7 separate regions of the Homo sapiens genome follow, and all the other regions are linked to region 3. The links are contacts of gene promoters, found by promoter capture Hi-C in human tissues and cell types (Jung and others, 2019). All regions are on one chromosome and are shown on one strand. The core of a region is centred on a gene start or on the middle of the fragment in contact, and the rest is flanking DNA. Distances in the headings are between cores, read along the strand shown.

Evidence for each region. The method cuts DNA at HindIII sites, captures the fragments that hold promoters and counts their contacts. A contact is called where the count stands out against the background at its distance.
Region 1: a fragment that was not itself captured here is called in contact with the fragment with the promoter of GAK in region 3 in 2 of the 25 tissues and cell types used here (dorsolateral prefrontal cortex and lymphoblastoid cells).
Region 2: a contact is called between a fragment that was not itself captured here and the fragment with the promoter of GAK in region 3, in 2 of the 25 tissues and cell types used here (dorsolateral prefrontal cortex and spleen).
Region 4: the fragment with the promoter of TMEM129 here is called in contact with the fragment with the promoter of GAK in region 3 in 1 of the 25 tissues and cell types used here (spleen).
Region 5: a contact is called between a fragment that was not itself captured here and the fragment with the promoter of GAK in region 3, in 1 of the 25 tissues and cell types used here (lymphoblastoid cells).
Region 6: a contact is called between a fragment that was not itself captured here and the fragment with the promoter of GAK in region 3, in 1 of the 25 tissues and cell types used here (lymphoblastoid cells).
Region 7: a contact is called between the fragment with the promoter of LETM1 here and the fragment with the promoter of GAK in region 3, in 1 of the 25 tissues and cell types used here (dorsolateral prefrontal cortex).

The regions. Positions count from the first base shown.
Region 1 is chr4:158,912-161,882 of GRCh38, reverse strand. ZNF718 (zinc finger protein 718) reads right to left here. Exons shown (of 4, transcript NM_001039127.6): 4 at 1-971. Among named protein-coding and RNA genes, the nearest start is that of ZNF718, 36 kb to the right of the region's middle. The HindIII fragment of the contact is 3,300 bases long and covers 1-2,971 here.
Region 2 is chr4:1,701,534-1,704,737 of GRCh38, reverse strand. SLBP (stem-loop histone mRNA binding protein) reads left to right here. Exons shown (of 8, transcript NM_006527.4): 3 at 1,038-1,142. Among named protein-coding and RNA genes, the nearest start is that of SLBP, 9.2 kb to the left of the region's middle. The HindIII fragment of the contact is 4,119 bases long and covers 1-3,204 here.
Region 3 is chr4:930,740-933,918 of GRCh38, reverse strand. GAK (cyclin G associated kinase) reads left to right here and starts at 1,603. Exons shown (of 28, transcript NM_005255.4): 1 at 1,603-1,876. The coding sequence starts at 1,732. TMEM175 (transmembrane protein 175) reads right to left here and starts at 1,459. Exons shown (of 11, transcript NM_032326.4): 1 at 1,379-1,459. RefSeq lists an enhancer at 1,018-1,337 and a silencer at 1,498-1,817. The HindIII fragment of the contact is 8,506 bases long and covers 1-3,179 here.
Region 4 is chr4:1,719,825-1,722,886 of GRCh38, reverse strand. TMEM129 (transmembrane protein 129, E3 ubiquitin ligase) reads left to right here and starts at 1,564. Exons shown (of 4, transcript NM_001127266.2): 1 at 1,564-2,254. The coding sequence starts at 2,050. It overlaps TACC3 (transforming acidic coiled-coil containing protein 3), which reads right to left and starts at 1,366. Exons shown (of 16, transcript NM_006342.3): 1 at 1,244-1,366. RefSeq lists enhancers at 536-1,531, 2,614-2,713 and silencers at 1,154-1,963, 1,974-2,023. The HindIII fragment of the contact is 14,879 bases long and covers 1-3,062 here.
Region 5 is chr4:339,643-342,727 of GRCh38, reverse strand. All of the region lies in intron 1 of ZNF141 (zinc finger protein 141), which reads right to left. Among named protein-coding and RNA genes, the nearest start is that of ZNF141, 3.4 kb to the right of the region's middle. The HindIII fragment of the contact is 3,033 bases long and covers 1-3,001 here.
Region 6 is chr4:236,079-239,200 of GRCh38, reverse strand. It overlaps the pseudogene ZNF876P. Among named protein-coding and RNA genes, the nearest start is that of ZNF732, 68 kb to the left of the region's middle. The HindIII fragment of the contact is 5,262 bases long and covers 1-3,122 here.
Region 7 is chr4:1,854,285-1,857,459 of GRCh38, reverse strand. It overlaps LETM1 (leucine zipper and EF-hand containing transmembrane protein 1), which reads left to right and starts at 1,304. Exons shown (of 14, transcript NM_012318.3): 1 at 1,304-1,591. The coding sequence starts at 1,510. RefSeq lists enhancers at 1-218, 888-957, 1,595-2,096 and silencers at 488-707, 1,108-1,667, 1,678-1,867, 2,662-2,838. The HindIII fragment of the contact is 14,961 bases long and covers 1-3,175 here.

The DNA of each region.
Region 1 (2,971 bases), core at 144-2,643, 770 kb after region 3:
ATCTTCACATTTGTAGGGATTTTTTCCAGAGTGAATTCTCTTGTGTACATTAAGGGTTGAGGACCAATTAAAGGCTTTTCCACATTCTTCACATGTGTAGGGTTTCTCTCCAGTATGGATTCTCTTATGTGTCGTAAGAGTTGTGGACCTATTAAAGGATTTTCCACATTCTTCACATTTGTAGGGTTTCTCTCCTGTATGAATTCTCTTATGTTTAGCAAAGTCTGAGGATGTGGTAAAGACATTGCCACATTCTTCGCATGAGAAGGGTTTCTCTCCAGCATGAATTCTCTTATGTTCATTAAGGGATGAGGACCACTTAAAGGCTTTACCACATTCTTCACATTTGTAGTATTTTTGTGCAGAATGAATTCTCTTATGTAAATTAAGGGTTGAGGATTGGTTAAAAGCTTTACCACATTTTTCACATATGTAGGGTTTCTCTCCAGTATGAATTCTCTTATGTTTAGTAAGGTGTGAGGACCGAGTAAAGCCTTTACCACATTCTTCACACTTGTAGAATTTCTCTCTGGCATGAATTCTCTTATGTTTAGTAAGAATTGAGGACCAATTAAAGGCTTTGCCACATTCTTCACATGTGTAGGGGTTCTCTCCAGTATGAATTCTTTTGTGTTGAGTTAGGCGTGAGAGCACGTGAAATGATTTGCCACATTCTTTACATTTAAAGGTTTTATCTCCAGTATATCTTATCTTATCTTTGTTTGAATTTGAAAATTTATGAAAAACTTTGACACATATATTAGATTGAATTGTTTTTTTCTGGGTAGTTAATAAGCATTGGTTAATTCTATTATAACCACCTTTCTGCACCTTACACTCATTTATACTTTTACAAGTTTTTCTTAAATTCTCATGTCCACGTTTCTCATGTCCTTTTGGTATAAGTTTGTGGAATGAATCTTCTATGCCCTGCACTGTCCAAAGGTTTTGGGTGAAATGAGAACACACAGCTGAAAGAAATAAAAATAACAAATTATCCCACTTACTAGATTCATATAAATATACTTTACAGGCCAGGCACTATAGCTCAAGCCAGTAATTCCAGCAGTTTCCGAGGCCAAGGTGGGCAAATAATGAGGTAAGGAGTTCGAGACCAGCCTGGCCAACATGGTGAAACACTGTCTGTACTAAAAATACAAAAAAAATGTGCTGGGAATGATGGTGCATGCCTATAATCCCAGCTACTTGGGAGGCTGAGGCAGGAGAATCCCTTGAACCCGGGAGGTAGAGGCTTCCATCAGCCAAGATCACACCACTGCACTCCAGAAAAGGTGACAGTGTGAGACCCCATCTCAATAAATAAATAAACAAATAAGTAAATAAATATACTTTACAAATCTAATACAATTACAAATCTAATATATAAAATTATACAAAGTATATCAGTAAGATGCTCAGTAAATACCACAGGCCATAATTTCTTTACAGACATATATAACAAAAATATACTGACCAAAATGCCTTTGTGTGAAATCTATAAATGAGTTAATTATGTGCAATGCCTCAGGTAAGCACAATTCCAAGAGCCACATAAAACACGAAGTAAAGTATGTTACATTTACCCACTGCAGCTCTTCCTTCCCACAAATATAGCATTGTGCTTTAGGAGTAAACTGCCAACACCTGGCTTCTTAGAGGAAAAATAGTGACACACGCATTCCTACTTCTGGTTTTTGGAAATTATTACAAAAGCTGGTTTCTGTCTCCAATAATACAGGGTGCTGAAAGAAATGGTGGTGAGTCTGCTGAGACCAAAGGTAAATGTTTCATGAGCAGACAGCAGTGCTAAAAACAGGGAACAGGTAGAGCAAGTGATTAGAAACCATAAGAAGAAACATGAACAAACTCTTTTAACTGAAGAATAAACACAAAATTCTAGACAAGACACACCCTTACAACATGTATGAGAGGCTCCCATAATCTCTATCAAAGACAACTGGTTTCAGACTATGTGAGGACAAGGCAACATTGTAAAGATTGTGACAAATAGCTTTTAGTTCATGTTCAAATAACAATATTACAATGTAGGCAAAATACTAGGGCAACATGGCCCAATTAAAAAATTTGAAAATTTTCAGAAAACAACTATAAATAATGAAGATATTCAAAATTTAAAAGTTTAACCTGAATAATGCTCAATGAGTGAAATAGAAACATATACAATTTATAAAATCAGAAAAATAAGAATATCAATGAAAACATTAAAAATATAAAAAACAAGTCATGAAGGTGAAAAATACAACAATAATGACTGAGACATTTTCAAAAGTAAAAAAAGGATGTAAAAACTGAAGATGCTCCACAAGCTTCAACTAGGATACACACATAGAGATTTATAACAAGACACATACAAGCAAAGTTTCAAAAGTCAAAGACAAGAAGAGAATCTTAGGAGTTACAAGGTAAAAGTGATGTGTCATTTATAAATAAGTGTGGTCTTATAAGATAACCAGTGAATCTGTCAAAAAAAAAAAATTCCAGATGTCATGGAATTGTAATATAAAGTGGTGAAAGAAAAATAGCTTCGGCCAGGCACAGTGGCTCAGACCTGTAATCCCAACACTTTGGGAGGCCAAGGTGGGCAGATCACAAGGTCAGGAGTTCGAGACCATCCTTGCCAACATGGTGAAACCCTGTCTCTACTAAAAATACAAAAAAATTAGCCAGGTGTGGTGCACATGCCTGTAGTCCCAGCTACTCGGGAGGCTGAGGCAAAAGAATTGCTTGAACCCAGGAGGCAGAGGTTGCAGTGAGCCAAGATCGCGCCACTGCACTCTAGCCTGGGCGACAAAACAAGACTCCATCTCAAAAAAAAAAAAAAGAAAAAAGAAAAAAAGAATAGCTCCTAAGTGGGACTAATATAACCAGCAAAACTGTCCTAAAAATGAAGAAAAAGTAAAGACCTTGCAAGATAACCAAATGCTGAAAAAGTATATTAGCACTACATCTG
Region 2 (3,204 bases), core at 103-2,602, 770 kb before region 3:
CACAGCGGAAACACCCACCTGAGATAGCCTCAATTAGAGACTTACCTTGCAGAGCCTTCTCAGTATGACAGCGAATCCCTCTGTATGGCCAGCCAGGGGAAGCACGAGGTTGCTGGAAGTGAGTAGTTGCTCTGCACCGTCAAGCATGCACACATCTGTCTAGATGTGCCCGCGATCTGTGAAACTCGGGCTTTGTTAGAATAATGGAATTCTTTGGTGGTCGGTTTTATGAAAGGCAATATTGTCACAATCCTGTCAACATTGACATTGGTAATGACTTCAAGCTGGGACTAATGGCATAGAGACAAATTAAATACAAGATGGGAAACTCTACACTCTCTGAACTTCTTAGAGTCAACTTCATAAGCTCCAGCATCAGGCCGGATGTTGGATCAATGAGATAAGGTTAACCCATAGAAATGCCAGAACTGAAGCTGAAAACTAGATATGGGTTTTTCTGACTGCCACACACACTGCAAAAATTTGAAGCAAATCTCCCATCTTAATGACTTTATAAACACATACCAGAGATGAACGAAATAAGTTGATTTCAGCCATATGATAGCCCTGGACTACTGAAGTGTGGACACCCAAAAGGAATCATAATTTAGTTTGAAGTCTAAAATCTAGTTGGTTTTATTAGACCCCCAAACACAGTGGGCACACTGCCAAGGAGCTCCATGACTTCTGCTCTAGTAAGACAGCCCTGGATAGACAGATGCAGCTGATAGGTTATGTTCTACATCTAGTTTGCTTTTGTCCTGCTAAACTCCAGTTTAGTATGGTTTGATACACATAGTTCACTGATATAATGCTTTTATTTTTTTGGGTGGGGGACAGAGATGAGGTCTCACTATCTTGCCCATGCTGGTCTTGAACTCCTGGGTTCAAGTGATCCTCCTACCTCAGTTTCCAAAGTGCTGGTATTACAGGCACAAGCCACTGTGTCCCACCAGCCTTTGAATATTTCTTGACATACAGTTTGAAAGAAAACAAAGTATGTGTCATGGTTCAGTAGCATTTTCCTTTTATTGCAGCTTTACCACTCCTGAAGGCCCTAAACCCCGTTCCAGATGCTCTGACTGGGCAAGTGCAGTTGAAGAAGATGAAATGAGGACCAGAGTTAACAAAGAAATGGCAAGGTACACATTTTGGACCACCTTGAAGTGTTAATCTGTGGCGTTTTCAGTAACACATTAAATTTGATATTTGTCTTAGAACAGTGGTTTTCAAAGGTCTGGGCTCCAGACCAAAGGCATCAACATTTCCTGGGAACTTGTTAGAAATACAGATTCTCAGACCCTTCCCTGGGCCTGCGAATGGGGTGGGGCCTGGCCATCCTGTGAAAAGCCCTCCAGGCGGGTCCACTCTTTCAAGCTTGAAGACCACTGTCCTCTTGGTGGTAATCCTTCCAAGAGTGGAAGTAGGTGCACAATGGTGTTACTGCTGGATTGCAGGCTGGAGGACTATCAGAACTAACTTTCTTTTTTTTTTTTTTTTTTTGAGACAGTCTCGCTCTGTTGCCCGGGCTGGAGTACAGTGACAAGATCTCGGCTCACTGCAACCTCTGCCTCCCGGGTTCAAGCGATTCTCTTGCCTCAGCCTCCTGAGTAGCTGAGATTACAGGCACAGGCCACCACGCCTGGCTAATTTTTGTATTTTTTGTAGAGATGGGGTTTCACTATGTTTGTCAGGCTGGTCTTGAACTCCTGATCCGCCCACCTCGGCCTCCCAAAGTGCTGGGATTACAGGCATGAGTCACTGTGCCCGGCCTAACTATCAGGAACTTACTATAGTCATTTGTTACCACCGACCTTCTGTGTGCGGTGCTCACACAACCCAGCACAGTAGATGGAGTGCTCTCTCCAGATGAAGGAATACATTGACACTTGGCTTAGGCAACAAACAGCTCAGAAATGCCAACATACAAGGAAAGGTCTCAAACTTGGATTCTGTGAACCTCTTGCAGTTGCACACAAGATTGTTGTGTGTATCCAAGTTCTTGCAAACTAAGCTACTTCGTCTTCGTTGACTCATTACCTAATGCATCCTTAACCATGTTTAATCTCCCTTGATTATCAGTGTGTTGATCCTTTCTCTTTTGATGAGTTGTCTAACTCAAACCCAGTTGCAAGGACTGGGTTTATTCAAACCCAGTTAAAATGTGGCTCATAATTGGTTGAAGTATTTTACAAGATAATTTTAGCCAACAAGTGGCTGATAAACAGGGTCTCAAGAAAAATGTGTCTTGCGTGTCAGCCGCGGAACGATACCTAGACTACCTGTTTTCATTTTGGCAGCCAGTGATGGTATTTATATCAGCCTCCTTTGAAAAGGGACGGGAATATGTGGGAATTGGTTATTGAACATTTGGGGGAGTTATTTGTCATTTCTTCTGGTATCAAAATGTGTGGGTGGATGTATGCCTTGGTAGAAGAAATGAACTAGGAGTTCACAGATGAGAGTACCAGTGTTTTTAGTGAATTATTGCATTTATATAGGTCTTGACTTCCTCAATTATAAAATTAGAATGTTTGACTTGACTTGTATAGTTTGTGTTGCATGCACAAGTCTTAGAACAGTTCTTGCATACCGATAGCCTAGTTGCTCCCTCAAGTCACCCCTTGCCAGGGGTTATCTGCAGCTCTTATTCATGCGTATTCCACCTGTCCAGATTGTCCTGTGAGTGGACCCTATTTGTTCTTCAGATATCTCATGGGTCTGTGCCTGAAAATTGTCCTGTTTTGGAAAACAGCACTGTTTGGGCTGCTCTGTTGATTATACCCTTTGTGATGGAAAGCTACGGCTTTTATTTACTTACTTATTTTTTTGAGATGGAGTCTTGCTCTGTTTCCCAGGCTGGAGTGTAATGATGCAATCTCAGCTCACTGCAACTTCCGCTTCCTAGGTTCAAGCGATTCTCCTGCCTCAGCCTCTCGAGTAGCTGGGATTATAGCTGTGTGCCACCACGTCCGGCTAATTTTTGTATTTTTAGTAGAGGCTAGGTTTCACCATATTGGCCAGGCTGGTCTTGAACTCCTGACCTCAGGTGATTTGCCCGCCTCGGCCTCCCAAAGTGTTGGGATTATAGGCGTGATCCACCTTGCCTGGCCAAAGCTGCAGCTTTTAGTGCAACCTGTGTAATTTAAACTGCTGGCCCTTTAGTGAGCCATTACTGACAGGCCGGCTTACTTCCTGACAGTA
Region 3 (3,179 bases), core at 354-2,853:
CTAAGCTATTGCTACTGTTATTTTTGTTATATATATTTTTAAAGATGTCATTTGGCTTCATGCAATACTTCATTCCATAACATAGATAAGTGTTCCAACGAGCTGAGGCTATTATCTTTTAATGATAAAGATAACAGATGTTAGCTTCTGGGACGGCTAAGAGGCTGATGTGAGCTTTAGAATCCATTTTTGAGTTGGAGAACAAATAACTCTGTTGAAGGGGTTGCAACCTTAAATGACTATAGGAACCAGGCAGGTAACATACATGAGCCCATCTGGTCAGGCAAATGACTGTGTCTTACCTCAAGGGACCACTCTAGGTAATTGGTAACACACATCATTTTGGGTCCAATATTGACAGGTTTGATTTTTCCACAGAAGCTGGAAAACTAGGTTTTTAACATTTAGGCCTTTCAATTATTATTATTATTATTATTTATTTTTTGAGGCGGAGTCTCAGGCTAGGGTACAGTGGCGCCCGCCTCCCGGGTTCAAGCGATTCTCCTGCCTCAGCCTCCCGAGTAGCTGGGATTACAGGCACCCGCCACCACGCTCGGCTAATTTTTGTATTTTTAGTAGAGACGGGGTTTCACCATGTTGACCAGGCTGGTCTGGAACTCCTGACCTCAGGTGATCCGCCTGCCTCGGCCTCCCAAAGCACTGGGATTACAGGTGTAAGCCACCGCGCCTGGCATCAGTCTTTAAATGATAGCAACTAATTCACCTCCTGCTACCCACTCCCAACCCCCAAATACTGTGTGGGCCAAAAACTAAAAATGCATTGTCTGTGAGCCATTTCCTTATTATCCTATAAGGAAAGTCACCATTTCATCTCCAAATAGTTGGGCATTACGAACCCTTCCAAGTGGTTCATGAGGATTTGCTTTTGCCTTGGAAAATGTCAGGGTGAGAACGAACCTTGAGGGTCACAGGGCAGTCTCTGCAGTGTTGTGGTTGCCCAGGACGAAGGTTTTTCTAGCCCACGGCTCCCACTACTGGTCACTGCCCCAGGCCAGACCCTGGCCCTCTCCTCGGAAGACAGAGCAATGCAGCAGCGTTTCCCCTGCAAACTGCCTGCCTGGCTGCTGGGAGGGGGCTGCCAACCTTACTCACTAAGCGTCACAGGAAACTCCGACCTCCATGAGACGAAAACCAAGTATTTACTGAAAGCTTAACGCACGCTAACTCCTTGCTCCTTAGCCAACTGAGAGAAAAATTCGCGAACCCATTCGCAAACGCGGCGCTAACAGCAAACGGGAGGCTGACTCCACCCAGAGGATGGCGAAGCGCTTAAACCGGAGACACCTGAGAAGGAGCCTCCCACAAAACAGACCATGTGGGGAACGGTACCGGGAGCTGGACTGGGGCGCTGAACTACCTGGGCGGGAATCGCCTCGGCGACTGTTCCGCGCGCCTCCGCTTGAGTCAGCCCGGCCGGGAGCTTGACAGCCGGAAGTTCATCGCAAGCCCGGCGACGCCGCGCACGCGCTGTCTCCGTCAGACCTCCGCGCCTGCGCGCGCAGCCAGGAAGTGAGGCCGCGGCGGAGGGGACGGGGCTAGGCCGGGTCGCCGCCTGACGCGACGCGTCCTCACGGGCGCCTACGTCACGGCGTCGAGGCGGAAGATGGTGCACCTCCGGGCCGGCGGTTGCTGAGCTGACCCGGACGGCGAGGGAGCGGGAGCCCGAGCCCGACCACTCCGGCTGCCGCGGGGTGCGGCGCAGCCACCGCCATGTCGCTGCTGCAGTCGGCGCTCGACTTCTTGGCGGGTCCAGGCTCCCTGGGCGGTGCTTCCGGCCGCGACCAGAGTGACTTCGTGGGGCAGACGGTGGAACTGGGCGAGCTGCGGCTGCGGGTGCGGCGGGTCCTGGCCGAAGGTGAGGCCCCGGGTCGGCAGCGCGGGTGCGGCCGCGGAGTGTTGTCTCCGGGACGCTGGGGGCAGCGTCAGCCCGGAGTGGAAGGGCGTGGGTTAGGGCTGGGGAGGGTCCCAGCGGGATCGTGGGTCAGGGTCGGCCAGGGGAGGGTCTCTGCCGAGGGCGTGGGTCAGGGCCAGGCGAAGGTCATAGCGCGGGCGTAGGTGAGTGCCTGCTGGCGGTGATTGCGGAGGGCGAGGCTGGGACCGGGTCGGGGTACTTTCTTGTCATAAGAGTAGGGTCAAGTCGGAGCAAGGCCTGGGGCTTGGGGAACCCCCTCAGGGTGGGTGGGGGAAGATGTTACGGTGAGGTGGGGGATGGTGGCAGGCAGGGAGCTTGGGTGGGGACCCACAGCGGAGACTGAGGGACGGTGCCTAGAAGGCCGACAGCTGGAGTCAGGAGGTGAGCGGTGCAGGAGGTGGGTTTAAGCCTTGGCCTTTTGCCGGACATCTGGGGTTATTGAGCAGGCAGGGACAGGACTGGACTTTGGAGGTTAGGGCTGGTTCTTCTACAGTCCAGGGAACTTGAGAGTTGGTGGGTGCACACGTGTTGCAGGTAGTTGCGGTTGTAGCCTGGGGGGTGGGGGGGTTGGCCGAGGGTAGACTGGGCTGTGTCTCGTGATCCCCCTTCGTCTTTCAACACCTCAGTGTTTCTCTTCCCGGTGAACATCTACTCGTGTGATTCCGTGTGTAGTACAGGAAGCAGAGCCAGTGGTTGTGACCTATATAGAACTTGCAGAGTGGACAGGTCACTCGGCTTAAGTCCTCTTGAGTCAGTCTTGAGTCAGTTTTGTCTCTGCATGCTATTTCTAGCTCCCTGGATGTCCTCTCCGTTCACACGGAATCGATCACCAGTGCCAGTGGGTCCCATTCTCTCTTGTGGATTTTCCTTACATTTTTTGTCCAGTGGTGCCTGGAGGTGTGTCATATTTCACTGGCTGTGAAGTTTATGGGCTAAACACAGTTGACTTGGGTGCGGAAGCGTAACTCTATTCTGCTGTATTGGCACAGGGAGAGGGAGTGAAGCGACACAAAAGCCCTCACCCTCACCAGCTCCCTGGTACCTCTCAGGGCTGGAGGGTTAGCCTGTCCAGGTGCCTGCTCTGTGACCAGACAGGAGACTATCCCAGAATTCTGATTATCACAAAAGGCCTGCGGAGACATTTTGACTGTAGCATTATCACACACTTTGTCTCCATTGTGGTCAAAACCAAACAGATTTTGGGTATGATTTGGTCAGAAAGTCTAAGCTCTTCTTTCAGAAGTGG
Region 4 (3,062 bases), core at 315-2,814, 790 kb before region 3:
CAGAGGAGGAGCTGGGAGACGATGCGCAAACAAGGGAAGCCCAGAGCTGAGCAACAGGTGCCAAGGAACTTCCACATCAGAGCCTCCAGTCAGTCCCAGGTTCCAGGGCTGCCCAGGTCCTCACGCCGGTCACCCACACACTTGCCACCCTTTCTGTCTACAGCGTTCCCAGTCTAGGGAATGACGTAGGGAAAAAGGCTGCCAGAGAGAACCGAGTGTCGACCAGGGCAGGAACCCCACAGGCACCTGGTGGTGGAGGGGGACCTGGGGAGGCTTTGATTTGAAGAAGAGCAAAGTTGGGGAGGGTCCTGGAGAAGAGAGAGGGGGCAGCCCCGGCAGGTCGGTGCTGCAGCTTGAGAAGCCCACTGTGGTGCTGTGTGTGGGTGGGGAGGTTAAGAGCAGAAGGGAAGCAGGGAAACCACAGGCTTCTGGAGCCCAAGGAGTAGATGCCAGACCAGACCCGGGCCTGGCCACTGGCACATATGGGACTTACGGACGACGCTTAGGTTTTCGCCCTGAATAACTGGGTACAGGGCAGGGGAAGGGGTGCTGGATCGCTGGGGGACCCGCAAGCCTCGAACTCAGGGAGAAAGTGACTCGGAGGAAGCCTTCTGGCGGCCTGGAGGAGCTCGGGAGAGCAGCAGACCCAGCCTTAGTCAGGAGGGGCCTTTACTGACTATGGAGGCCCGGGAGGGGCTCTGGGCAGAGAAGGGACCGGCCCCAGGCTGGTGCTTTGGTGCTACTCTGGTGCACAAGAGGGATGCGGTGCGGGGGGAAGGTGGAGCGGCGCAGCAGGTGCGGGGAAGCGGTAGGGGCCCAGGTGTCCGCCGCAGGCGGCCTAGATGGAGTTGGCCCCAGGACGGAGGCCGGAAGGGACCAAAGAACAACAGGAGGGTCCGCGTGCTGGGAGCCAACAAAGAGCCAAGGTGGGCGACCGAGAGACAGGAGAGGGTCGAGGAGAGCAAAGCACCTCGGGGCGCCCGCTCCGCCGTCGGTCTTGGCCCAGCTCTAGCCGCCCCTGGCCACCATCCAGGGGGCCCAGCCCGGCGGTCGGTCTAGGGCCGGGTCCCATGACAGGGCGCGGTACAGGTTCTGGCGGCGGCCCCAGGAGGAGCCGTGGGGGACGCTTCCCGGGGAAAGCGGCGGCCGGGGCGGGAGGGCGAGGGCCGAGGGCGGGGCGGGGCGGGACGGCCTCGCGCCCCCAGGACCCCAGCCTCCCCGCGCCGTGTAGCCGCTCTCCTACCTGCCCGCCCGCCCGTTGCCGGGCTCTGAGCCCGCGCCGCCGCCGCCAGGAAGGAGGGGTCCGCGTCTGCTCCACGCCGGGGGCCAAGCCTAGCTGCTACCGCCGTCGCGCTTCTAGCCCTTGATGGCCGCCGGCGCGCCGGAGTTTCAAACGCCGACGGTTGCCTTCGCGCGGCCAATCAGCGCGCGGCCGGGGGCAGGACCGCAGGAGGGCGGGCGTCCAATGGGAAGCTGTGCCTCGCCGGCTCCGCCCTCCCTCCCCCCCCACCCCCCGCTCGGGCGCCGACGGTTCCGTTTCCGGAGTGGAGGGCACGCCAGGGTGTCTGAAGCTGAGACCCCGGGCTCGCAGTCGCCCCATGAATTTCGAGTTCCGCAACTGACGCTACTGGGCGGGGCTTCATGGCCAGGGCCTCGCTCAGGCCTAAGTTTCCCCACCTGTGCTCAATGCACAGGTGCGGTGCCGCCTCCAGGGCCGGCCGAGAAGAGAGGCCGCACCCGCACGGGGACTGCATCTCCCAGAGCGCCCCGCGAGCGGCCGAGCGGCGGGACTCCATGCCCTAGAGTGCCCCGCGGGCGGCCGGGCGGCGGGACTCCATGTCCTAGAGTGCCCCGCGGGCGGCCGGGCGGCGGGACTCCATGTCCTAGAGTGCCCCGCGGGCGGCCGGGCGGCGGGACTCCATGTCCTAGAGTGCCCCGCGGGCGGCCGGGCGGCGGCCGCCGCAACCGACAGGTCCGGGACTGGGCGCTGCGGCCTCGTCCGCGCGCCGGGGCGGGGGCCTAGCTCGACAGCTTCCCGGCGGCTGCGCGATGGACAGCCCCGAGGTGACCTTCACTCTCGCCTATCTGGTGTTCGCCGTGTGCTTCGTGTTCACGCCCAACGAGTTCCACGCGGCGGGGCTCACGGTGCAGAACCTGCTGTCGGGCTGGCTGGGCAGCGAGGACGCCGCCTTCGTGCCCTTCCACTTGCGCCGCACGGCCGCCACGCTGTTGTGCCACTCGCTGCTGCCGCTCGGTGAGGCTGCTCGGGCCGGCCGGCCGCATCCTCTCCTGCGCAGGGCTTGCTGGGAGGTCAGGAGGAGGCCTCCGCCAGCTCCCCGAGGCCCCGAAAGCGCCTGGGCGCAGCTGGGGAGAGGCGCCGGTCCTCATCCAGAGGGACCGCGGCGTGGGCTGAGCGCGCTTAGGGGCGCCGCCGGCACTGACTTGCAGGTGACGGGAACCCAAGTTCAGAACCTTGGGCAAGGGATGCTCCGGCCCACCAAGTCCTGAACCGTCACGTGCCTGGGGGTTGCAAGGCCAAGCAGCCCTTGCTTGTCGTGGTTGGGGGCAGTGGCCAGGAGAAGGCAACTGTTGATTGAGTCCAACGGAAGGGGTCGGAGGGGCTGTGTGGAGGGTGGCACTGCACTAGGCCTTGGAAGGTGGGTGTGGAGAGAACAGGCGGATTTGGAGGCAGTTCCAGTTTGGGGGCGCCACAGGGGCAGAGGCTGGGGAGGGCCTCTGTGCAGTGCAGGTGGGACGCTCAGAGTTGTCCAGGGGGGTGCTGGGCTGGGCCCCAGGTGCTAGCTGGGGCTCTGGAAGGTCCCTCTCTCAGCTGATTGGATGACGGACAGGTGGGAGGTGGGGTGTGCAGTGGCTGGAGGGGGATTTCAAGGGGGTACCTCTGGAGGACACGGGGGCAGACGCAGCCCTGGGAGGACAGATGGCCAGTGGCTGGCCAGGTTTGCCACTCTGGGGATACAAGAGGGGTGACCCTCCACATCCTGGTTTGAGGATGCAGCTGCCTGGGCCCAGAAGAACTGGAGGCAGGTGTCGGGTGGAGGCGC
Region 5 (3,085 bases), core at 236-2,735, 590 kb after region 3:
ATGGACAGGATCTGTGGGCAGAACACAGCTGATGGTTTCTCTTCAAACTGTCCATGTGATCCTACTGGAAGACTGGGCTGAGAGTCACTTAGCTAAGCACTGCCTCTCAAGCTTCATTGTACATATACATTATTTGATATTGTAGGCCTCACTGTAAGTAACAAAATTCTGCAGGTTTGAAAAGGGTCCATGAATTAGCTTTTTACAGCAAGTCTCCTGTTAATGCTGACGCTCCTCCCTCTAGACCCATTATAGTACCACTCAGTTAGAGAAAGCAGACACAGCACACAGAGTCCCTTACCCCAACACCGTTATCACAACACAAATACTTTTCATCCCAAGACCACCAATCATCATCTTCAAACATGGCATTCTCTGCAGACCCTATAAGGTTACAGAAGTTGGAGACGGTGGCAATGTCTGAGTAAGTCTGTATCTGAAAAACAACATGTGCATCTGCATTAATGCCATCTTTATGGGGCATGTAATATGTGCTCAGATGTATGTCACAGAGCACTGTGATGGGAAGCTCATATTATGTGTGTTAATTCTCATAACATCCTGGGAGGTAGACACTAGGTGTCCCATACTTCCCAGATTTAAAGGCAGGGCCCAGAATTTCCATTTCCTTTCTGTTTCCCCTGACTTTTTAAAAAAATGTATAGAATAATAGCTAAATATAAATAGATGGGAGAGAGCCAAAGAAAGTGTTAAGTACAATTCAGAGGAATTTTTTTATTTTTGTGTTTGTATTTACTTTGAGACTTGTAAGAAAAAGCCACTGAAACTGCAGGGATAGAGAACAGGTTGCTGGGTGGGATGTCTCTAGAAACATTAGTTTTAATTTTATAGAAAAGATTTAAGGCCCCAAAGTATATAGCTTTTCCCTATTTATTGGCTTTTGGGTTTCAGAAAATTGTGGGCACCAGCTCTGGAGAGGAGACTGGAGTAGCCACCCTAAACTCTGATCTCCTCTATTAATCAGTTCTGTGAGAGATTTCAGTGTTGGCTCAGACCTGGACAAGGATCAGAAGAGGGTAGATCTGGGCAGGGATGGGACAGAAAGTGGGCCCTAGGCTTCTGCTCTCTATGTCACTAAGTACTTTCGGTTTTGTCTTTTCTAAGCCTGCCCAAGAGAAATTTGATTCCCAGAATTTGTGAAATTTTAATCTATTTTAGCCACTTCTCTGTCTTTTGTATAACATACAGTAACAAGGAATTTAACCAAAACCCTTATGTTTCTCTAGAACAATTATATTAGAAGCTAAATATTTATTCTTAGCAAGGTAAACACAATACAAATAATAACAACTTCTCTTCTGTCAATGAATAGCCATTCACATAATGGCATCAAAACTCACAAAACAGGCTGGGCACGGTGGCTCACGCCTGTAATCTCAGCACTTTGGGAGGCTGAGGCGGGTGGATCACAAGGTCAGGAGTTCAAGACCAGCCTGGCCAATATGGTGAAACCCCATCTCTACTACAAAATATAAAAAATCCGCCGGGCATGGTGGCGTGCGCCTGTAATCCCAGCTACTCGGAGGCAGGAGAATTGCTTGAACCTGGGAGGCGGAGGTTGCAGTGAGCCGAGATCGCACCACTGCACCCCAGCCTGGCGACAGAGCGAGATTCTGTCTCAAAAAAAAAAAAAAGAAAAATGTTTTTTTGACCTAAAAGGAAAAAGGTGGGGTAAACATAATATAAGAAGAGAGTTTATTTGGGCCAAAGCTTGAAGATTGCAACCCTGGACTATAAAGCTGCCCTGAATATACACTCCAATTAGAAGCAGTTACAAGTATATTTTTAAAGGCAAAAAGAAAGGCAGACGGAACTGATAGAAAGCTGTCAGAAATTCTTATTGGTTTATAGAAGTAACATTGGTTAGTGATTGGCTATGTACGTTGTTAAGCTATAAGGTGTGGGTTATAGTGTCCAGTATGGCATTATTAGGTTAATTTATATCCACTTGTGGCAATAGCAAACAACTTCAAAAGACAAACAGTTCAAAGAGGGGAACGGTAGGACTGTGGTCTCATTTTAACACATCACTTGGTCTCGTAATTAAAAGAACTTGTATTTCTCAAACAAAAGTTCTGTTCTTCTCTCAAATCCCAGGACATAAACTCAGAATTTGGAACTGCACATTTAAGACTTGGAGGGCTGGTAAGCACATTTGTGGGCATTTGGGCAAGGGGAGAAGGGAGAGAATGGAAGTTCTCAGGTTTAATCAATGCACATGTGTGAACCTCGCTGGATTTATGGGCCCCATGATTTCTGAATCAGTGTCAGATCTGAAGATCATTGGCACACTGAAAGAGGTGGAAAAACTGATCGCTATCCTAAAAAGTCATTTTTGTAGAAATCTAGTCAAACTGCTATAGAAGGGATTGTAGATCCCAAATAGAGAGATCATTTTGTTTGCAGCTTTGGGGAGCACTTTGCTGCACTTCGTGCACTTTGCTGCACAACTGTGGGTTGTGACTGGAATCCTGAGAAAGAAGGTTCTTCTCTAAAACGAAGCCTGGTGGGCACTTTGTGTATAACATCTAGTAATTCTTGACAGCGTGTGGAAAATATAACAGCAAAATCATCTACAATCCTAAAATACTGTCCAAAATAATAGAACAGCAAGAAAATGTGTTGTTAGAGAATTAAACAAAATGTGGTGTGCATTACAGGCAGTCTACTAAGAGACTGCCAAAACAAAGAAAGTCACCATAATTAGCTCTCAAGTAGAAGACTTGACAGTACCATGTATCATACATAGTTTATTACACTTTCACCTAGTAATTTGGGAGGTCATCCGGGTTTCCTAATTGGTAATATTCAAAGGGAAAATAAACTTCCCACAGCTTCAGGACAGGAGGTAGATTTGATATGTGAAGGCAGGTACCTGCTGAAGGCAGCCTCCTACTCTGCTACAGAAATTGCGGAATAGGTTATATATTCTTGCTATGCACATTTCAAAGCAATAGTTTCCATGTCCTAAAGACAATTTTGAGTCAAAAAAGACAAATCACCTAGTTAACAGATTAAAATGAGTTATATATATTTCAAAGAAGCAGAGAAAATATTTAAATAT
Region 6 (3,122 bases), core at 279-2,778, 690 kb after region 3:
CCAGCTCCAGTCCCAAAACCTACCTCCAGTCCCAAAACCTACCTCCAGTCCCTGTCAACTAAAGTCTGGGAGCAGTCCTGCCCACCCAGGAATCTGGAGGGAGAAATGCCGTGAACCCAGAAACAAACCTGAAGACTTTGGTCTCAGCTGTGTATCCTGAAGCAGCCCTATGAATCAGTTCCACACCCTCTCAGCTGTGACCAAGGGTCAGTACTTCTCATCTAGGAATCTGTCCAATGACTGGGTTAGAAGATTTCTAAAAACCCAGCAAGAGCCACACAGCAGAAGCCATACCTGCTCACATGGATTATATCAGCTCTGTCATCTGCATATACAACTGGAGACTTTTTTTTCTCAGCACCAGTCTTACTGATCAAGATCCTGAAGAAAGTTCAGTCTTCCTAGAAAATAGACAGAATCCACAACAGTCTGATGCCCTAATAACAGGTCTGCCAAGCATGAACTTCACTGTGATCCAGATCCAATGCACCTTACTGCAAACTCACTGGAAATCTCATCAGCACAGAGATCCAATAGGAGAAAATATTTACCACCCCAAACTAATCTATAATGACTGCAAGAGATATTTACTCCTTCAGATGCAAGGACATAAAAACAAGGCATCACAGACCATGAAAGATCAGGCAAATGTAACACCACCAAAAGAAACTAAAAATTCTCTAGTAACCACTTACAGTAAAACACAGATCTAAAAAATGGCTAAGAATTCAAAATAATTATCTTAAAGAATCTCAATGAGATGCAAAAAAACCACACATTACTAAATTTTTTTTGCAACAACGTATGAACAGAATCACAATTATAATAAAGAGAAACCATTAAAACAGAACCAGTTAGATATGCTGGAGCTGAAGTACACAATAGGAGATCTAAAATATTTAAGAGAAAGCTTTAACAGGAGACTCCGTTATACAGGAAAAAAAAAATCAGCAAATGTAAAAGTTATTTGAAAGTTCCTAGTTAGAATTTAAAAAAAGAATGCGAGTGAATAAAGCATTTGTCCCCCATATTTCATAATCAATGGTAAGGATGTACAATTTTAGGAGGTTCATGAGAAAGAAAAAAATTTTTAAATTGTTTAAAGATATAATGTCTTAAATTCTTCCCAATCTTGGAAGGAATATAGATATTAAATTTAAAAGCTCAAAATGTCTATAGCAAGAAGAATCTAACAGAAATTGTCCAGAACACATTATAATTAAACTGCCAAAATTCAAAGACAAACAAAAAAGAAAAAAAAAAGAAAGAATGAGTAATACCCAGTATGAGTATAATAATTTAGTTGCACATTTTAAAATAACTAAAAGAGCATAATTGGATTGTTTATAACCCAAATTATAAATGCTTGAGGGGATGGATATACCCCATTTTTGATTATGTGATTGTTACACATTACATGCCTGGATCAAGACATCTCATGTGCCACACAAATATATACATGTCCTACATACTCACAAAAATTAAAATTAAAAAAAGAAAACCCTTTACCTGGGGTTTGCCTGCAAAACCTAAAATAAAGAGTAAAAAGTAAAAAAAAAAAAAAAAAAGCAAGAGAAAAGAGATTCTTCACATTCAAGGGAACTCCTATAAGGTTATCAGCAGATTGCCCAGCAAAAACCATGCAAGCCACACAGGAGTGAAACCATATATTTAAAATGCAAATGAAGGAAGAAAAAGAAAAAACCTTGACAACTAAGAAGACGATACCTGACAGAGCTGTTCTTTAGAAATGAAGTATCAAAATCTTCTCAGATTAAAAAAAAGTTGAAAGTTTTAATCACTAGACCTGACTTACAACAAATGCTAATGAGAATTTAAGTTGTAATGGAATCCAAACTTACAACAAAATTATAAATCTTACTGAAAATCATATATACATAGTCGAATTTAGAAGGCTATAAAACTAATTATGGTGAATGAATTAATCACATTTAACTCTGGTATAAAAGCTACAAGAAAAAATTATTAAGACTACATATAGCTTCAATAATTTGTTAAAGGGTATACGATATAAAAAGATGTAGAGTGTGACATAAATACTATGTTGAAGGGAGTAAAATTGTTTAATTTTTCTATACATAGAAGCTAACTTTTGCTTGAGGCCAGGAGTTCAAAACTAGTCTGGTCAATATAGCAGGACCCTGTCTCTTAAATAAGTACATAAATAAAATTAAATAAAGATCTCAGAAAGCTATTTAGTCTTTTAAAAAAAGAAGCAGCTGGGCCTGATGGCTCATGCCTGTAATACTAGCACTTTGGGAGTCCAAGGCAGGTGGACTGCTTGAGCCCGGGAGTTCAACACCAGCCTGAGCAACTTGGCAAAACCCTGTCTCTACAAAAAATACTAAAAAAATTAGCCAGACATGGTGGCATGTGCTTGTAGTCCCAGCTACTTGGGAGGCTGAGGATTGCTTGAGCCTGGGGAGGTCAAGTCTGCACTGAGCTATGAATGTACCACTGCACTACACTGGGTAACAAAGCAAGACCCTATCTATACAAACCAAAAGCTAAATTCTTATCTGAAATTAGATTTTATAACTATGAGATGTTTTACATAAGCTTCCTGGAAATTACAAAAAAAACTGTAGTGGTTACACACAAAAGAAAAAGAATGCATATAACAACAAAAACAACAAAAATTCAAGAAAATACAGGGGAAGACAGCATGAAACAATGAAAAAACAAACTACTAAATGGTCAGAAAACAGTAAGAAAATGGCAGTAAGTTCTTATCAATCAGTAATTCATTTAAATATATAAAGATTTAGTTATCCAATAAAAACACATTGCTATAGTTTGAGCGTCCCCTCCAAAATTCATGTTAAAATTTAACTGACATTGTGAGAAAATTAAGAAATGAGGCCCTTAAGAGTTATTAGGTCATGAGCACTCTACTGTCATGAAAGGATTAGTATCAGTATTACCACAGTGTATTAGTCATCATGAGAGTGGGTCTATTATAAAAGTGAGCACTGGTGTACACCTTCTGTCATCCTCAACCCTTTGGTCATGTTGTGATGTGGAAATGTGATTCTCATCAGATGGGAATGACATGCTCTTGGACTTCTTGGCATCCAGGAGTCTGAGCTAAGTAAATTCTA
Region 7 (3,175 bases), core at 55-2,554, 920 kb before region 3:
GGTGCCGCGGAGAAGCAGGAGGAGGCAGGTTACATCCCTGAACAAGACAGAGGGCAGGGCAAGTGCTGTGCTGGGGATCTCCTAGCTGGAGATCTCCACCAGCTGGGCCCCCAGCGCCGCAGGTCCCCATTTTTCTCCCTGCCTGCTTTCTCTGCCCCAACTCAGGGATCCTCATCTTAGGGAAGGAAGGGGAAGGTGGAGCTCAGAGGTCACGGTCTGCTGGGAGGCTGCACGGTCTCTCTCCCCTGGACTGGTCAGGGCCGGCTATTAAACTGGGCTGGGGGGAGGCTCCTGGGAGACGGCGCATGAGCGGTCCGCGAGCCCAGCCCAGCTCTGGCGGGAATTCTGGAGACTTCGAGCCAGGTCCTTGGCGTCCTGGGCTTCGGCTGTTCCTTCTTGGACTGGGAAGTGGAGCGGACAGGGTATGGCCCAGGTTAGGAAGTCTGGCGCTCTTGCGGCGCGCGGGACCCCAGGGGCTGCTTAGGCCAGAGCGAAACGAGGGGTCCCCCCGCGCCAACGCAGGACCCATATCTACCCCTCCCGCTCAGACGGGAGGACGCGGTGTGCCGGGATGGGGGGCCGCTATGCTGGCTGCGCCGCCACCCGGCCTAGTGCCCTCGCCTCCAGGGGCCGGCATGGCCCTGTCCTTCGGGGCGGGACCCTGCGCTCCCGTCCCCCCAGTGGTGACGGGGACTCCCGACGCCGAGCAGCGCCGTATCTGGGGAGCGCCGCCCGGTACGCAGGGAAGAGGCACTCAGAGCTGCGCGCGCCAGAGTGCAGACCGCCGAGGGCAGAGCCACAGAGCAGGGGGGCCGGCGAGGGACCGCGGCCGAGGGCGTCGAGGGCGCCCCTCCATCCCCAGCGTCCCCTGACTTGCCCTTGGAGCCCCAAGCTCCCAGGAGCCGTTTTCTACTCGTGGGTGCAGGACTTAGTCCCAGAAAAGTTCCGGACACACGCGCTGCTGCCGCCGCCCGGAGACGAAAAGACACTCCCCGCGCAAGCGCGGCCGACTCCCTCAGCTCCTGCGGCCGCCACGCTGCGAGCCCCGGCGTCCACGGTACGACGGGAACCAGGATGCAGCGAGCCCCAGGAGCCAGCCGCCCCGGTGCACGCCGGGACCGGTAGTCCGCGCCTCAGGGTAGTCCGCCGCTCCGGTGCACGCCGGGATCGGTAGTCCGCACCCCAGCGTGCAGGCCGTCCCGGTGCACGCCGGAACCGGTAGTCCGCGGTGGCGCGGTCCGCCCCTCACCTGGCCAGCGGCGGGCGCTGAGGGGCCCAATGGGAGCCGCGGCCTGGCCGCCCCGCCCCGCGCCTCCGGACGTCTGTGCCGGGACAAGGCCGCCGCTGGTGCCGGGTCCTTGAGGAGAGCGCCTCCCGTCCGAGGCCAGCCGCCTCTGTCAGCCGTCCGCGCGGGCCGGGTCTGAAGCGCCGCCGGGACGGCGAAGAGCCGCGGCCGCCGCGGAGAAGGAGGCAGCGCAGGAGGCCGGAGCGGCCGCCGCGCCCGAGCACATGGCGTCCATCTTACTGAGGAGCTGCCGCGGCCGGGCGCCCGCCCGCCTCCCGCCGCCGCCTCGGTACACCGTCCCGCGGGGTAAGCGGCGGGCACCCCAGGGCGGGGCCGGCTCCCGGCTGGTGGGTCGGGAGCGCGGACGACCCGCGGGTTCGGGCTGGTTGTCACGGCGATGCGGGGAGCCCGGTGGTCCCGGCCTCCGGAGCCCCTGCGGGACCGTGGGGCCCCGGGTCTCGTCGCGGGCTGGGCCGCCAGCGCCGGGCGGAGCCGCTGGGCCTCTGCCGTGTGTTGTGACCTTAGGCGGCCGGGTCCCCCGGGTCACTGCCTCAGAGACAGTGGGAAAATTCTGAAGGGCTGGGCAGCCCTGGCGCGCCCTGCGCGAGTAAGCTTGGTGGAACGTGTCCACGCACGAGGACGGCCGTGCCCTTTGGTCACGTTTGGGGTCCCGGAGACGAGACTGGGTGGGCAGGGCAGACACCGGCGAGCAGGACCTGCTGGGCTGCAGGAGCCTTCCTGGTCCGTCACTGATGAGGTGATGCCAGCACCTACAAACCCCTGTGGTGTGATTAGGCCGCGACCGGCACCCGGGGAACACGGGGACTCCGGAGCCGCTGAGGGTCCTCAGGGTGCGTGGCTTTAGCCCCCCTAGCCTCAGGTGCTGTCTGGAGTGAATGCTGTCCCAGGGTGTGCCCACCTCCTCTCTCTCTCTAATTAACCAACTTATTTGAGTCTATGTCCTTATTTGTAAAATTGGAATAAACATAAAACTTGCTAAGAGGGACTCAAGTAAAATAATTAGTGCAGTGGTGCGATCATACTCACTGCACCTCAAACTCCTGGGCTCAAGCTATCCTTCTGCCTCAGCCTCCCAAGTTGTTAGTTGTGCCACACAACACCCAGCTAATTTTTTTTTTTGTAGTTTTTTTGTAGAGACAGGGTCTTGGTATGTTGCCCAGCCTGGTCTTGAACTCCAAGGCTCAACTGATCCTCCTGCTTTGGCCTCCCAAAGTGCTGGGATTACAGGAGCCACCATGCCCAGGCACCCAGCTTCAATATTCTTGTCTCTGTTCCCCACCCCCAAAGAGATAGATTGAAGTTGCCCTGAATGTATCCTCCCAATTCTTGTTTTTTTTTGTTTGTTTGTTTGTTTGTTTTTAAAGACAGAGTCTCAATCTGTTGCTCAGGCTAGAGTGCAGTGGTGTGATCTTGGCTCACTGCAACCTCCACCTCCTGGGTTCAAGTGATTCTCTTACCTCAGCCTGCCGAGTTGCTGGAATTATAGGCACCCGCCATCACGACTGGCTAATTTTTGTATTTTTAGTAGAGACTGTTTTCTCCGTCTTGGCCAGGCGGGTCTCGAACTCCTGACCTCAGGTGATCCACCCACCTCGGCCTCCCAAAGTGCTGGGATTACAGGCGTGAGCCACCGCGCCCGGCCCCCAATTCTTGTAATTTTTTTTTTTTTTTTTTGAAATGGAGTCTCGCTCTGTCATCCAGGCTGGAGTGCAGTGGCATGATCTCGGCTCACTGCAACCTCTGCCTTCCAGGTTCAAGCGATTCTCCTGCCTCAGCCTCCTGAGTAGCTGGGATTACAGGCGCACACCCTCATGCCTGGCTAATTTTTGTATTTTTAGTAGAGATGGGGTTTCACCATGTTGGTCAGGC